3 separate regions of the Homo sapiens genome follow, and regions 1 and 3 are each linked to region 2. Evidence: promoter capture Hi-C in human tissues and cell types (Jung and others, 2019). All regions are on one chromosome and are shown on one strand. The core of a region is centred on a gene start or on the middle of the fragment in contact, and the rest is flanking DNA. Distances in the headings are between cores, read along the strand shown.

Region 1 (4,014 bases), core at 1,232-3,731, 310 kb before region 2:
TATTCATTCTCTAAACAAATATTTATTGAGGGACTGCCTTGTGCCAAGCAGCATGCTGGACACCACAAAAACAGTGGAACCCAAAATAGATGTGATCCCAGTCCAAGAACATGGACAAATTTGGACAAACCAGCAACTATAAGTCAGGGTGATGAATGCTGTGAGGGGCCACTGCAGGAGGCTACCTAACCCAGCCTGGGGTCAGGGAAGGCTTCCTGGAGGAAGAGGCGTCTGGACCCAGATGGGAAGCCAGGTGGGCAGAGGAGAGAGAAGAGTGTGCCAGACCAAGGGAAGGGCATGGGTGGATGGGTATTTTCCCCCAGGCAGTAGAGCTGGGCCCTTTGCCCCACTCCACCTCCCCCAGCCGTGAGAGCTGGTTCCCCACAACTCCCTTCCCCCCAGTGACACTGGATTCCTTAGACACCTGGATGCTTGAACACCTGCCTTGGAGAGCAAAGAGTGGGAGGCATGAGACGCTGGCTCATTCAGGGAACTGACCCAAGCTTAGTGTCGCTGAACTATGGAAAGCAATGAGGCTGATCCTGAGAGCATCAGGTTGTTAAGTGGAGGTGAGCAAGGAGACCCCCTAGGCCACAGAAGAGAAAATAGATCCTGCCATTCCACCTCCCCCTTCCTATTCCTGTCCACCTGGCTAGACAGCAAACGGACAGCAGACAGATCTATGGGTGCCAGGTGCCTTTTTTTTTTTTTTTAAGGCTAGTTAAGCAGTAGGAGTGGAGAAAGAACAAAGAAATCTGTAACAGGTTGTGATCAATTAGTTGTAAACACCAGGCGGCTTTATTGGTAGCATTGCAATCTGGGGGTGGAGCAGCTTTACTCTGACCACACTCACCCTCTCGCTCACACTCACACTCACACACACCCCAGGCCCTGTCCTGGCTGGTCAGGTCTGGTGCAGAGGAGCTGGAAGCCTGGTCCTTCCTTCTGGTCCTCGGTTCCCCAGGTTAGGTAATAATTCACAATGCTTGACTCGGACTCCGGGCTCCCTCTGCACGGTCATAGGTTAACTGCTGCGGCGCTTCATCTAGAGGAGGAAGGAGAGGAAGGATCATGGGCTGGAATCTTAGACAGGAGCTCAGAGGGAGGAGACAGGGCCAGGGAGGGCCAGGCTTGCCTTGGCTGAGGTCCTCTGCAGTCTCTGGATGATGCGTTCTACCCAGGGCTGGTCTGGGGGTGCACAGAGCTGGCGGCCCCTCAGTGTGGTGAACCTGGGGTGAGAGGCCGGAGAGAATGGAGCCCCAGAATCCAGCATGCCTGGGGACCATGTCTGGGAACCTGTTTCAGGGATTTCCTTGAAGGGGTTGGGCTTGGCATGGAGAAGGGGAATAAGAAGGTGGGAGTCTCAACAGGGGCTAAAACGGGAGATGAGGCTAGACACCCTCCCCACAACTCACACTACAGCAGGCACCCTGCAGCCATCCTTGATGAGAAGGTAGTGGAAGTTCCTCACGATGTACCCAGGGATGGGTTTCTGGGTCACAGACAGGCAGCAGTCTTCAGCATCATTGGTGCCACTCAGAGTTGGGGCTGGGATGGGGAAAGAAGGTGACAGGACACAGGGACCCTTGAGGGTGGCATGGCCATGGCCCTAGCTCGGATTGAGGACACCTGTGTGTGTGTGTGTGTGTGTGTGTGTGTGTGTGTGTGTGTGTGTCTGGTGGGGTCGGGGAGGAGTTAGACCTGGTATTCAGCCATTATGCACCAATATGGCTCTGGCTCTACTGGTTGCTAAATATATTGTCATACTTCTAAACTGTTTTGTAAATAACCACTGCCCTGAGCCCCACAAATGACTTCCTGCTGCCCTGATCACCCCAACCTCTCTCCCAGGACAATCCAGCAAGTAAAGAGTTAATGCAGGTCACAGTGTGGGAGGGGCGTGGGGTAGGGTAGGCTGGTGTTAGGAGCCTTATTAATTGCTAAAATTTTTGAATATCAGCCTTGGCTTAGTGTCTGCCATTCTCCCTACCTTAAGCAAATCTCCTTCTGCCTGGGAAACGGAGGCAGCAGGAAATAGAGCTTGCAGAGACAGTCACAGCCATAGGCCCCAGGATGTGCTAAAAGACACACCCGCATTGGGATTCAGGGGCACAGGGACACCCACACTTACAGGCACACATGCAGGGACCTGCCAGGCTCACCGAAATATACAGACCTAAGCATTTGCCTGAACTCACCATGTCCCTTACGTCCAGTGCCAAGCAATCTGAGATCTAGACATTACCCACTGCCAGCCCCCCACTGCCTCTGACCCTGACTCTCCCTTCAGCCTTACCTGGGGAAGTCCAGAGAACCAGCAGGCTGAGGGCCAGTAGCAGGGCCATGGAGGGTGAACAGAGGCAGGCCAACGGTGAATGTGTGAGCGCCAGCTGTCTGGGTGTGTGCAGGATCTGTGTGAGGCTGCAGGGCGACTGGGATGCAGGGGTGAAATGCAAGGTGTGAGTGATGTGAGGCTGGGAATGTGAGCCCTGCAGCTGACTCCTATTTATGGCCAGAGCTTCACTTTCTCTGCCTGAAATTCCCCTTCATGTCCCATTCTGTGATTCCCCTGTTGCCCCCCTCTTTCTGGCAGAATCGCACCCTGCCCCCCTTCTTCCCCCTGCGGTTGCCCTTTCCTTCTGCTTTCCTTGGCTCCTGCTCTGAGAACTTAAGTCTGCAGTCTGGCCCAGTAAAGGGGGCTGTGCACTGTTTCTCCAGAGAGAGGGATTGCCCTGTCATCCCATTGATGGCATTTGCATCATCAACCATGAAGCTGGGGTTCAGAAGTGATGGTCAAAGGTGGGGCCCACAGTGAGGAACTGTGCTCCCTTCCTTAGGTTTATCCCTTGTCCTCACTGGTGCTTCTTTCTTGGGCTGGTGGTGAAGAAGGCTCCCTGGCACCCTCAGGACAACCATGAGATCCTGGGGTGGCCTCCAAGGTCATCACTGTGCCTGCCCACTATGTGGGAACCAGTCCTTCCCTTGGGGCAAGCAGAGCTGAAAGGCCAGGTACCTTGGGAGGAGGCCCAGGACCCCCATCCCACATCTCAGGCCTCTGGGGCTCAGCAAACCCTCCCCTTCCTCTATTTACTGTTTTCCTATGTCCAACACCTGGGTCAAAGGAACAGCTGGAGGGAGACTGGCTTGGAATAGCCCCCTTCATTTTCCCCCTTTTCTCAGTCCTGGGAACCAAGAGGGGATTTCTAAGGAGAGGGGCTGGCCAGCTCATATTCAGACAAATCTTAAAATTTCAAGGAATCGGCCGATGGGGGAGGGGACAAGTGACTTCCCATCCTTATGAGAAAGGTCAGAAGAGAAGGCCTTGAAAGAGAAACTAAATGTGAAACGCCCAGTCACCCGTCGTCACCCAAACCCTAGACCCTCTTTTGGATGGAGAGAGGGAGGGGGAACATTTCCCTCTTAAATTTCTGACTTAGCTTCTTTCCATTCATTAATCATAATAATAGTAATGGTATTTTTGATTGTTTACTATGTGCTAGGCTCTATGTCAAGGACTTTACCACTATTACCTTGCTTAACTTTCCCAAAACAATACCATTGATGTAGTTTTTCTTATTTTCACATTATTATTCTTATTTTACACATAAGGAACATGAGGCTCAGAGCACAAAGCCACACAGCTAGTAAGTACTGGAGCATGATTTGGACCCAGGTGTGCTCTAGGGTTTGCAGTCTTTACCTCCACTCCACACCGCCTGTCTGCCACTTGGTCATGGCACAGCACGGGTAGTCACGGTGCAGAGGAGGGAGACTCTGCAGACAGAGCGCCTAGCTTGGGATTCAGATTCCACCACTTACTAACTGCGACAAGGTGAAAATTCTCCAGTTTCTGTGTCTTAGTGTCCTTATTTGTAAAATGGGAATGGTAGAAGATCTACTTCTTAGGATTAAGTGAGGAACCCTGAGTAAAGCCCTTAGCTTAGAGGCTGACGCACAATAAGCTCTGTTAGCCATTGTTCTTCTTTTGTCCTTTTTTTTTTTTTTTTTTTGAGA
Region 2 (4,087 bases), core at 431-2,930:
AAGATCTCTGAATTACAGAGTAAAAACTAGAAATTCTCAACAAATGTTGAGCTTCAATTGGGGTGACAGACTATACCTCATTCTGCGTCCTAGGAAAGGATACCCCAGAAGCCTTAATCTGGGGTGAAAAAGAAAGTAATAGGAGCAGGAATGAGGATTGAAGGTGGGCCCAAGGTAGGTGCTGGGATGAAACAGAGTTTGGGGCTGGGGGAGCAGTGGGGAACCTTTAGCCTGTATTTAAACCAGAAAGTGAAAGTGGGCATTAGAGATTCTACTGACTAAAACAAAGAGAGACTCCAGTGCAAAATAATCACCAGAAGTCAGGACAGTAGCCACCAGGGCCTCACTGTGCAGAGGTGAGACTCCAGGAGAGATGGTTCCATCCCCCAAGATTTTGGAATTTGGGAGCTGCTGAGGATGTGCAGCTGCTCTGGTTTGTCTTTGGTGCTCCACAGTGGTTGGGAGCCTATGTTGTCCTGTATGCCAGCAAGTGACTCTAAAATAGTTCCAGAAAAATTTATGTATATACCCCTCCAGCAAAGACTGGTAGACTCATTGGGTGCAATCACTTAATGAAACCTCTGTCTAGTCTTTGGCTAAGCTAGCCAAGCAGACACTTCAGTGGCCACACACAACAAAAAAAAATACACAATTTACACAATTAGTAAAGTCACGACACAAGCAAACAACAATGACAAATAGCAACAACAAAGCTTGGGGTCGGGGTGGGGAGTCTGATTTCCAGAAATGCCACATTATACTTGCCAGGCCTCTGAGCCCAAGCTAAGCCATCATATCCCCTGTGACCTGCATGTACACATCCAGATGGCCGGTTCCTGCCTTAACTGATGACATTCCACCACAAAAGAAATGAAAGTGGCCTGTTCCTGCCTTAACTGATGACATTATCTTGTGAAATTCCTTCTCCTGGCTCATCCTGGCTCAAAAGCTCCCCTACTGAGCACCTTGTGACCGCCCCCCCTGCCCGCCAGAGAACAACCCCCCTTTGACTGTAATTTTCCTTTACCTACCCAAATCTTATAAAACGGCCCCACCCCTATCTCCCTTGGCTGACTCTCTTTTCGGACTCAGCCCGCCTGCACCTAGGTGAAATAAACAGCCTTGTTGCTCACACAAAGCCTGTTTGGTGGTCTCTTCACACAGACGCGCATGAAATTTGGTGCTGTGACTCAGATTGGAGGACCTCCCTTGGGAGATCAATCCCCTGTCCTCCTGCTCTTTGCTCTGTGAAAAAGATCCACCTACGACCTCGGGTCCTCAGACCCACCAGCCCAAGGAACATCTCGCCAATTTTAAATCGGGTAAGCGGCCTCTTCTTACTCTCTTCTCCAACCTCTCTCACTATCCCTCAACCACTTTCTCCTTTCAATCTTGGCGCCACCCTTCAATCTCTCCCTCTCTTACTTTCAATTCCTTTCATTTTCTGGTAGAGACAAAGGAGACACATTTTATCCTTGGACCCAAAACTCTGGCGCCAGTCACGGACTAAGGAAGGCAGCCTTCCCTTGGTGTTTAATCATTGCAGGGACACCTCTCTGATTTTTCACCCATGTTTCAGAGGTGTCTGACCACATGGGGACACCTGCCTTGGTCCTTCACCCTTAGCAGCAAGTACTGCTTTTCTAGGGGGCAAGAACCCCCCAACCCCTTCTCTCCATGTCTCTACTCCTCTGCTTTTCTAGAGGGCAAGAACCCCCCCAACCCCTTCTCCTTCACCCTTAGCTGCAAGTACCACTTTTCTAGGGGGCAAGAACCCCCCAACCCCTTCTCTCCGTGTCTCTACCCCTTCTCTGCTTTTCTGGGGGCAAGAACCCCCGATCCCTTATTTCTGTGCCCCAACCTCTTATCTCTGTGCCCCATCCCTTATTTCCACGCCCTGACCCCTTATCTCTGAGCCCCGATCCCTTATTTCCATGCCCCGACCTCTTATCTCTGCGCCCCGATCCCTTATTTCCGCACCCCAACCTCTTATCTCTGTGCCCCGATCCCTTATTTCCACACCGCAATCCCTTATTTCCGCACCCTGACCTCTTATCTCTGCACCCCAACCCCTTATTTCTGTGCCCCGACCCCTTTCCTGCTTTTCTGGAGGGTAAGAACCCCCGAACCCCTTCCCTCCGTGTCTCTACTCTCTTTTCTCTGGGCTTGCTTCCTTCACTATGGGCAACCTTCCACCCTCCATTCCTCCTCCTTCTCCCTTAGCCTGTGTTCTTAAGAACTTAAAACCTCTTCAACTCTCACCTGACCTAAAATCTAAGCATCTTATTTTCTTCTGCAATGCTGCTTGACCCCAATACAAACTCAACAGTAGTTCCAAATAGCCAGAAAATGGCACTTTTAATTTTTCCATCCTACAAGATCTAAATAATTCTTGTCATAAATTAGGCAAATGGTCTGAGGTGCCTGACGTCCAGGCATTCTTTTACACATCGGTTCCTCCCTGGTCTCTGTTCCCAATGCAACCAGTCCCAAATCTTCCTTCTTTCCCTCCCACCTGTCCCCTCAGTCCCAACCCCAAGCATCACTGAGTCTTTCTAATCTTCCTTTTCTACAGACCCATCTGACCTCTCCCCTCCTCACCAGGCAGAGCCAGGTCCCAATTCTTCCTCAGCCTCTGCTCCCCCACCCTATAATCCTTTTATCACCTCCCCTCCTCACACCTTGTCCGGCTTACAGTTTCATTCCTCAACCAGCCTTCCCCCACCTGCCCAGCAATTTCCTCTTAAAAAGATGGCTGGATATAAAGGCATAGTCAAGGTTAACGCTCCTTTTTCTTTATCCGACCTCTCCCAAAATCAGTTAGCGTTTAGGCTCTTTTTCATCAAATATGAGAAACCCAGCCCAGTTCATGGCTCGTTTGGCAGCAACCCTGAGACGCTTTACAGCCCTAGACCCTGAAAGGTCAGAAGGCCATCTTATTCTCAATATGCATTTTATTTTATTACCCAATCTGCTCCCGACATTAAATAAAACTCCAAAAATTAAATTCCAGCCCTCAAACCCCACAACAGGACCTAATTAACCTGGCCTTCAAGGTGTACAATAATAGAGTAGAGGCAGCCAAGTAGCAATATATTTCTGAGTTGCAATTCCTTGCCTCCACTGTGAGACAAACCCCAGCCACATCTCCAGCACAAAAGAACTTCCAAACGCCTAAGTCGCAGTGGCCAGGCGTTCCCCCAGGCCCGCCTCCCCCAGGAGCTTGCTACAAGTGCCAGAAATCTGGCCACCAGGCCAAGGAATGCCCGCAGCCCACGATTCCTCCTAAGCCGCGTCCCATCTGTGCAGGACCCCACTGAAAATCAGACTGTTCAACTCACCTGGCAACCAGTCCCACAGCCCCTAGAACTCTGGCCCAAGGCTCTCTGACTGACTCCTTCCCAGATCTTCTCGGCTTAGCAGCTGAAGACTGAAACTGCCCGATTACCTCAGAAGCTTACAGGACCATCACAGATGCTCTAGGTAACTCTTACAGTGGAAGGTAAGCCGTCCCCTTCTTAATCAATATGGAGGCTACCCACTCCACATTACCTTCTTTTCAAGGGCCTGTTTCCCTTGCCTCCATAACTGTTGTAGGTATTGGCGGCCAGGCTTCTAAACCTCTTAAAACTCCCCAACTCTGGTGCCAACTTAGACAATACTCTTTTAAGCACTCCTTTTTAGTTATCCCCACCTGCCCAGTTCCCCTATTAGGCTGAGACACTTTAACTAAATTATCTGCTTCCCTGACTGTTCCTAGGCTACAGCCACACCTCATTGCCACCTTTTCCCCCAGTTCAAAGCCTCCTTCACATCCTCCCCTTGTATCTCCCCACCTTAACCCACAAGTATAAGACACCTCTACTCCCTCCTTAGCAACCAATCATCCACCCCTTACCATCTCATTAAAACCTAATCACTCTTACCCCGCTCAATGCCAATATCCCATCCCACAGCACACTTTAAAAGGATTAAAGCCTGTTATCACTCACCTGTTACAGCAAGGCCTTTTAAAGCCTATAAACTCTCCTTACAATTCCCCCATTTTACCTGTCCAAAAACCAGACAAGCCTTACAGGTTAATTCA
Region 3 (4,344 bases), core at 1,694-4,193, 290 kb before region 2:
AAGCCCAGAGGCTGTCATATCTGAATTCTTATGTCTCAAATGTGGAGTCTAGGACTTGAAGAGATATACCTGCTGGAACCACAGGGGTCAGAACACTCACTGGCGAGACTGATGTCCAATGATAGGATGGTGTAGGAGGCAGGTAGGAGGCCTCCCTTGGGCCTTGAGGTTTCTGTGACCTTTGCATAACCCTTGGCAGGTGGGATCCCACAAGAGTGCCTGATGTTGAATTTCTCATCAGCACTCTAGTGCAGTAGCTTGGAGTAGGAATTAAGTTCATTTAAGGAACATTTCAAAAGTAGTATTTCTTGCATATCTGAGTTTATAGATTAATTTCACACCTGCTGCCCTAGGACAGGCAGGGGAGAGGCCCTGTCTTCACCTGCTGCAAGAGGAGCAGACAAGCCAATACTTGAGGATGTTAGGATAGGTGGTAAGTGCTGTGGCATACTCAGGCTCCTACAGAAGGAAAAGTTGATGGAGCAGCCACTTCTAGCTTCTGAGGTTCCTACCTTTCTTCTTCTTCTTCTCCTCCTTTTTTTTTCTTTTCCTGAAATGGAGTCTTGCTCTTGTCGCCCAGACTGGAGTGCAATGGCACAATCGATCTCACCTCACTGCAACCTCCGCCTCCTGGGTTCAAGTGATTCTCCTTCCTCAGCCTCCCGAGTAGCTGGGATTACAGGCGCCCGCCACAATGCCCGGCTAATTTTTGTATTTTTAGTAGAGACGGGGTTTCACCATGTTGGCCAGGCTGGTCAGGAACTCCTGACCTCATGATCCGCCTGCCTTGGCCTCCCAAAGTGCTGGGATTACAGGCCTGAGCCACCGCGCCCGGCCTTGAGGTTCCTACCTTTCTTGCCCTTCCCCAGGATCTGTTCCCTTCTTTCTCACATTGTCTGGCCCAATCTGATGGCTTCTACTCTCCCCGCCTGGAGGTGATTTGGGGAATAGAAGGGTCTTCACTCTGGGGAGGAAGAGGTAGAGGAGAGCCATCTGAGGCCTTCCAGGAGAGGAGACTGATTCACACCTGAATCCTGGGGTTCTGAAAACCTGCCCCAGGAGACTTATTCCTTGACTTCAAAGGGTTAAATGGGCTAAAGTAGTCTGGATCCCAGCCAGGAAAGAAAGGAGGAAAAAAAAAGGGAGGAGGTTTTTCCATCTGGAAGGAGGCTGAGTGAGTCCAGGGGCCCAGATAGGAATAGAAGGAGAGCACAACAGCCCCATTAAACAAAGAGGAGAGGTCAAGGCCCGAGCTTCACTGAATAGGGCTGAAGCAAGTCCCCTCGGGTCTTTGCCTCCCAGGGGCTCTCTCAGGGCTGGAACTGTGCTAGGGCAGGTTTCAATATAACTTGTGTTTGTCTGTGTTATAGATGGGCCCAAGCCACAGCTTCCCTCCTAGGGACCCTTCCAAAGAACCACTTGGAGGGTCTCATTGAATAGTTCCCAGGGAAAAGAGAGGAAGCCTCTGGGATATCTGGGGAAAGGTCTGAAGGTCATGGAAAAGATCCGAAGGTCACCCCTGGAGTTAGTGCAGGACAGAATCAGGGTCTCAGAGGTCTGCAGAGCTGTTGGGGGTGTGTGCTCCATGTCCACCACCTCTCCATTGGCAGGATGCCTCAGAAGACTGGGTCCTACCCTGTCCTTCAGCCTCCCTTTAACTGCTCAGGGGTGCAGGCACCTGAGAGGCAAGGAAACTCTTGGGGTAGATGAGAACATAGCATTTTTCAGCCTGAGCTTTCGGCTCAGAGTGTGTGACCCCACCCTGTAGGAACCTTGGCATCTCGGTGGACATAAACACATGGGAACAGGTACTTGGGTGGGAAGACAGAACAGCTTTTTATTCAGTTAGGTATAAATCATATTTACAAGGAAGAGGTGGGGTGTACTGGGGAGCCGTATCAGGTCCAGGGTCCTGATGATTCTCCTTCAAGGGGACAGTCCTGCTGCCTCCTCTCATGCTCCCTGGGAGACTCTCCCTCCTCGGTCTCTCTGGACCTGGCCTGCTGTGGGCAGCTCAGCCATGCAGGGTAGAGCTGGGAATGCAGATGGGGTGGTTAAAGCAGGAGAAAGAGTGTGGCAAGGCCAGCATGGGGTGGCTGCTCCAGGGCCCCTGAGCATAGCCTCCTTCTTGCATCTTGGGTTCAGGCTTCAAGCGCTGGTGAGGCTGGTGGGGTCTCCAGGGCTCCAGGCTGCTCACTGGGCTATGGCCCTTTAGGGGTCTGTGACCGCTCAGTCCTGTGAGGGCAGAAGAGGGGTGTGAGGGGCTGACTGAGGCTCCCCTTTACCCACATCCCTCAGATTCCTCACCTCTTGCAGCCTTTGGAGCCCTTTCCTTTCTTGCCAGTCTTGGAGGCCCCCCTGTCCTTCCTGCAGCCCTGGGCTGGTTTCTGTGGGGATGGTGTCTTGTCCAGATGCTGCATCAGCTGCTGCACCCAGAGCTCCTTTGGGTCTGCACATAGCTCTGCCTGAGAGCGCTTGCGGGGCAAGAACCTGCGGGTGGGGGCTAGTAAGCCTTCTTAGTCTTGCCCACCATGCCCTCCCCACCCCGTCACCAGCCAGTACCCACCCCTTTGTGTCCACTCACAGGATAGCTGGGATGGAGCAGCCTAAGCTTGGTTCCTGCTTCCGGTAGCTGCGGACAACCTTGGCGGGAATCTTCCTTTGGCTGTACTTGAGGCAACAGTCCTGAGCCCCTCCATCACTGCCTGCAGGGTGGGATTCACAGGGAGCCAGGGGCTGCTGGCAAGCTCCTATCCAGGCCTCTTGATCCCCTTAGCCCCATGCAAGGCCCCTCCCTGCCTTGGTACCTTGGGTCCTGGGGATGCCAAAGGCCAGAACCAGGATAAGGAGGCTCAGAGCCAGTGACTGAGCCATGTCTGTGGTAGAGGGTGAGTAAGAGGCCAGAGCTGAGGGTGAGGTGGGCAGCTGCAAGTTGGGGGTCTGTGCGTGGGCTGGGATTGGCCTGCTATTTATGTAGCTAGACACTTTCACTTCCCTTAACTTATCCCCACTCCTTTTCCTTCCTGAAAGCTGGATTTGCTGGCACCCAGCCCCACTTATCTCAAACTAAGTGGACAGTCCTCAGCTGCCAAATTTTATGTCCTCATTAGTTGAATATGTCTGGGCCTGAGCCTTCCTTCTATTCCCAGCTACTGCTTTCATGCAGGCCTCACTGCCTCTCCCCTGGAACACCATGACTGTCTCCTCACTACGCTCCAGGATCCATACCCTTCCCCTCCTTCCAGCAAATCTGATTATTAAATTGTAAGAGTTCTTTTTTTTTTTTTTTTTTTTGAGACAGGGTCTAACTCTGTCACCCAGGCTGGAGTGCAGTGGTTGATCTTGGCTCACTGAAATCTCCGCCTCCTGGGCTCGAGTGATCCTCCTACCTCAACCTCCCCAGGAGCTGGGACTACAGGCAAGCACCACTGCGCCTGGCTGATTTTTCTATTTTTTTTTTGTAGAGACGAGGTTTCACGATGTCTAGCCCAGGCTAGTCTTGAGCTCCTGGGCTCAAATGATCTGCCTGCCTCAGCCTCTTGAGGAGCTGGGACCACAGGCACATGCCACTACGTCCGGCTACTGTTTTCATTTTTCATTTTTATTTTTTCTAGAGATGAGGTCTTGCTATGTTGCCCAGTCTGGTCTTGAACTCCTGGGCTCAAGCGATCCTCCTGCCTTGGCCACCCAAAGTGCTGGAATTATAGGTATGAGCGACTGCACCTGGTCTGTAGCATAACCATTTTGATTCCCCTTTGCTTTCCTTTTCTATATATTTTGTAGTTATTTTCCTAATGGATACCTTGGTGATTATAATTAACATTCTAAACTGATAACAACCTAGTTTGAATAATACCAACTTAGTTTCAATGGTATATAAACATTTTGCTCGTATACATTTTAGTCCCTTCTTTATATTGTTATTGTCACAGATTACATCTTTATACATTGTGTTCCCATTGACATAGATTTATAATTATTGTTTAATGCATTTTCCTTTTAAATTATATAGAAAAAAGTGGGGCTACAAACTAAAAATACAATACTAGCTTTTATCTTTTTTTTTTTTTTTGACACAGGGTCTCGCTTTGTCACCCAGGCTGGAGTGCGGTGGCACAATCTCAGCTCACAGCAGCCTCGACCTCCTGGGCTCAAGTGATCCTTCCACCTCAGTCTCCTGAGTAGTGGGGCCACCATGCCTGGCTAATTTTTGTATTTTTTGTAGACACGAGGTCTCACTATGTTGCCCAGGCTAGTCTCGAACGCCTGACCTCAAGCAATTCACCCGCCTTGGCCTCCCAAAGTAATGGGATTACAAGTGTGAACCAGCATACCTGGCAATGT

What was found. The method cuts DNA at HindIII sites, captures the fragments that hold promoters and counts their contacts. A contact is called where the count stands out against the background at its distance.
Region 1: the fragment with the promoter of CCL19 here is called in contact with a fragment that was not itself captured in region 2 in 1 of the 25 tissues and cell types used here (dorsolateral prefrontal cortex).
Region 3: the fragment with the promoter of CCL21 here is called in contact with a fragment that was not itself captured in region 2 in 2 of the 25 tissues and cell types used here (dorsolateral prefrontal cortex and mesenchymal stem cells).

The regions. Positions count from the first base shown.
Region 1 is chr9:34,688,795-34,692,808 of GRCh38, forward strand. It overlaps CCL19 (C-C motif chemokine ligand 19), which reads right to left and starts at 2,482. Exons shown (of 4, transcript NM_006274.3): 1 at 2,297-2,482; 2 at 1,416-1,548; 3 at 1,136-1,229; 4 at 776-1,045. The coding sequence starts at 2,345. The coding sequence ends at 1,025. It also overlaps a transcript of PHF24 not described here. The HindIII fragment of the contact is 19,341 bases long and covers 1-4,014 here.
Region 2 is chr9:35,002,531-35,006,617 of GRCh38, forward strand. It overlaps the pseudogene LOC100420114. Among named protein-coding and RNA genes, the nearest start is that of DNAJB5, 15 kb to the left of the region's middle. RefSeq lists an enhancer at 794-1,294. The HindIII fragment of the contact is 4,415 bases long and covers 1-3,888 here.
Region 3 is chr9:34,707,193-34,711,536 of GRCh38, forward strand. It overlaps CCL21 (C-C motif chemokine ligand 21), which reads right to left and starts at 2,944. Exons shown (of 4, transcript NM_002989.4): 1 at 2,808-2,944; 2 at 2,585-2,705; 3 at 2,308-2,490; 4 at 1,813-2,235. The coding sequence starts at 2,874. The coding sequence ends at 2,202. It also overlaps a transcript of PHF24 not described here. The HindIII fragment of the contact is 9,492 bases long and covers 1-4,344 here.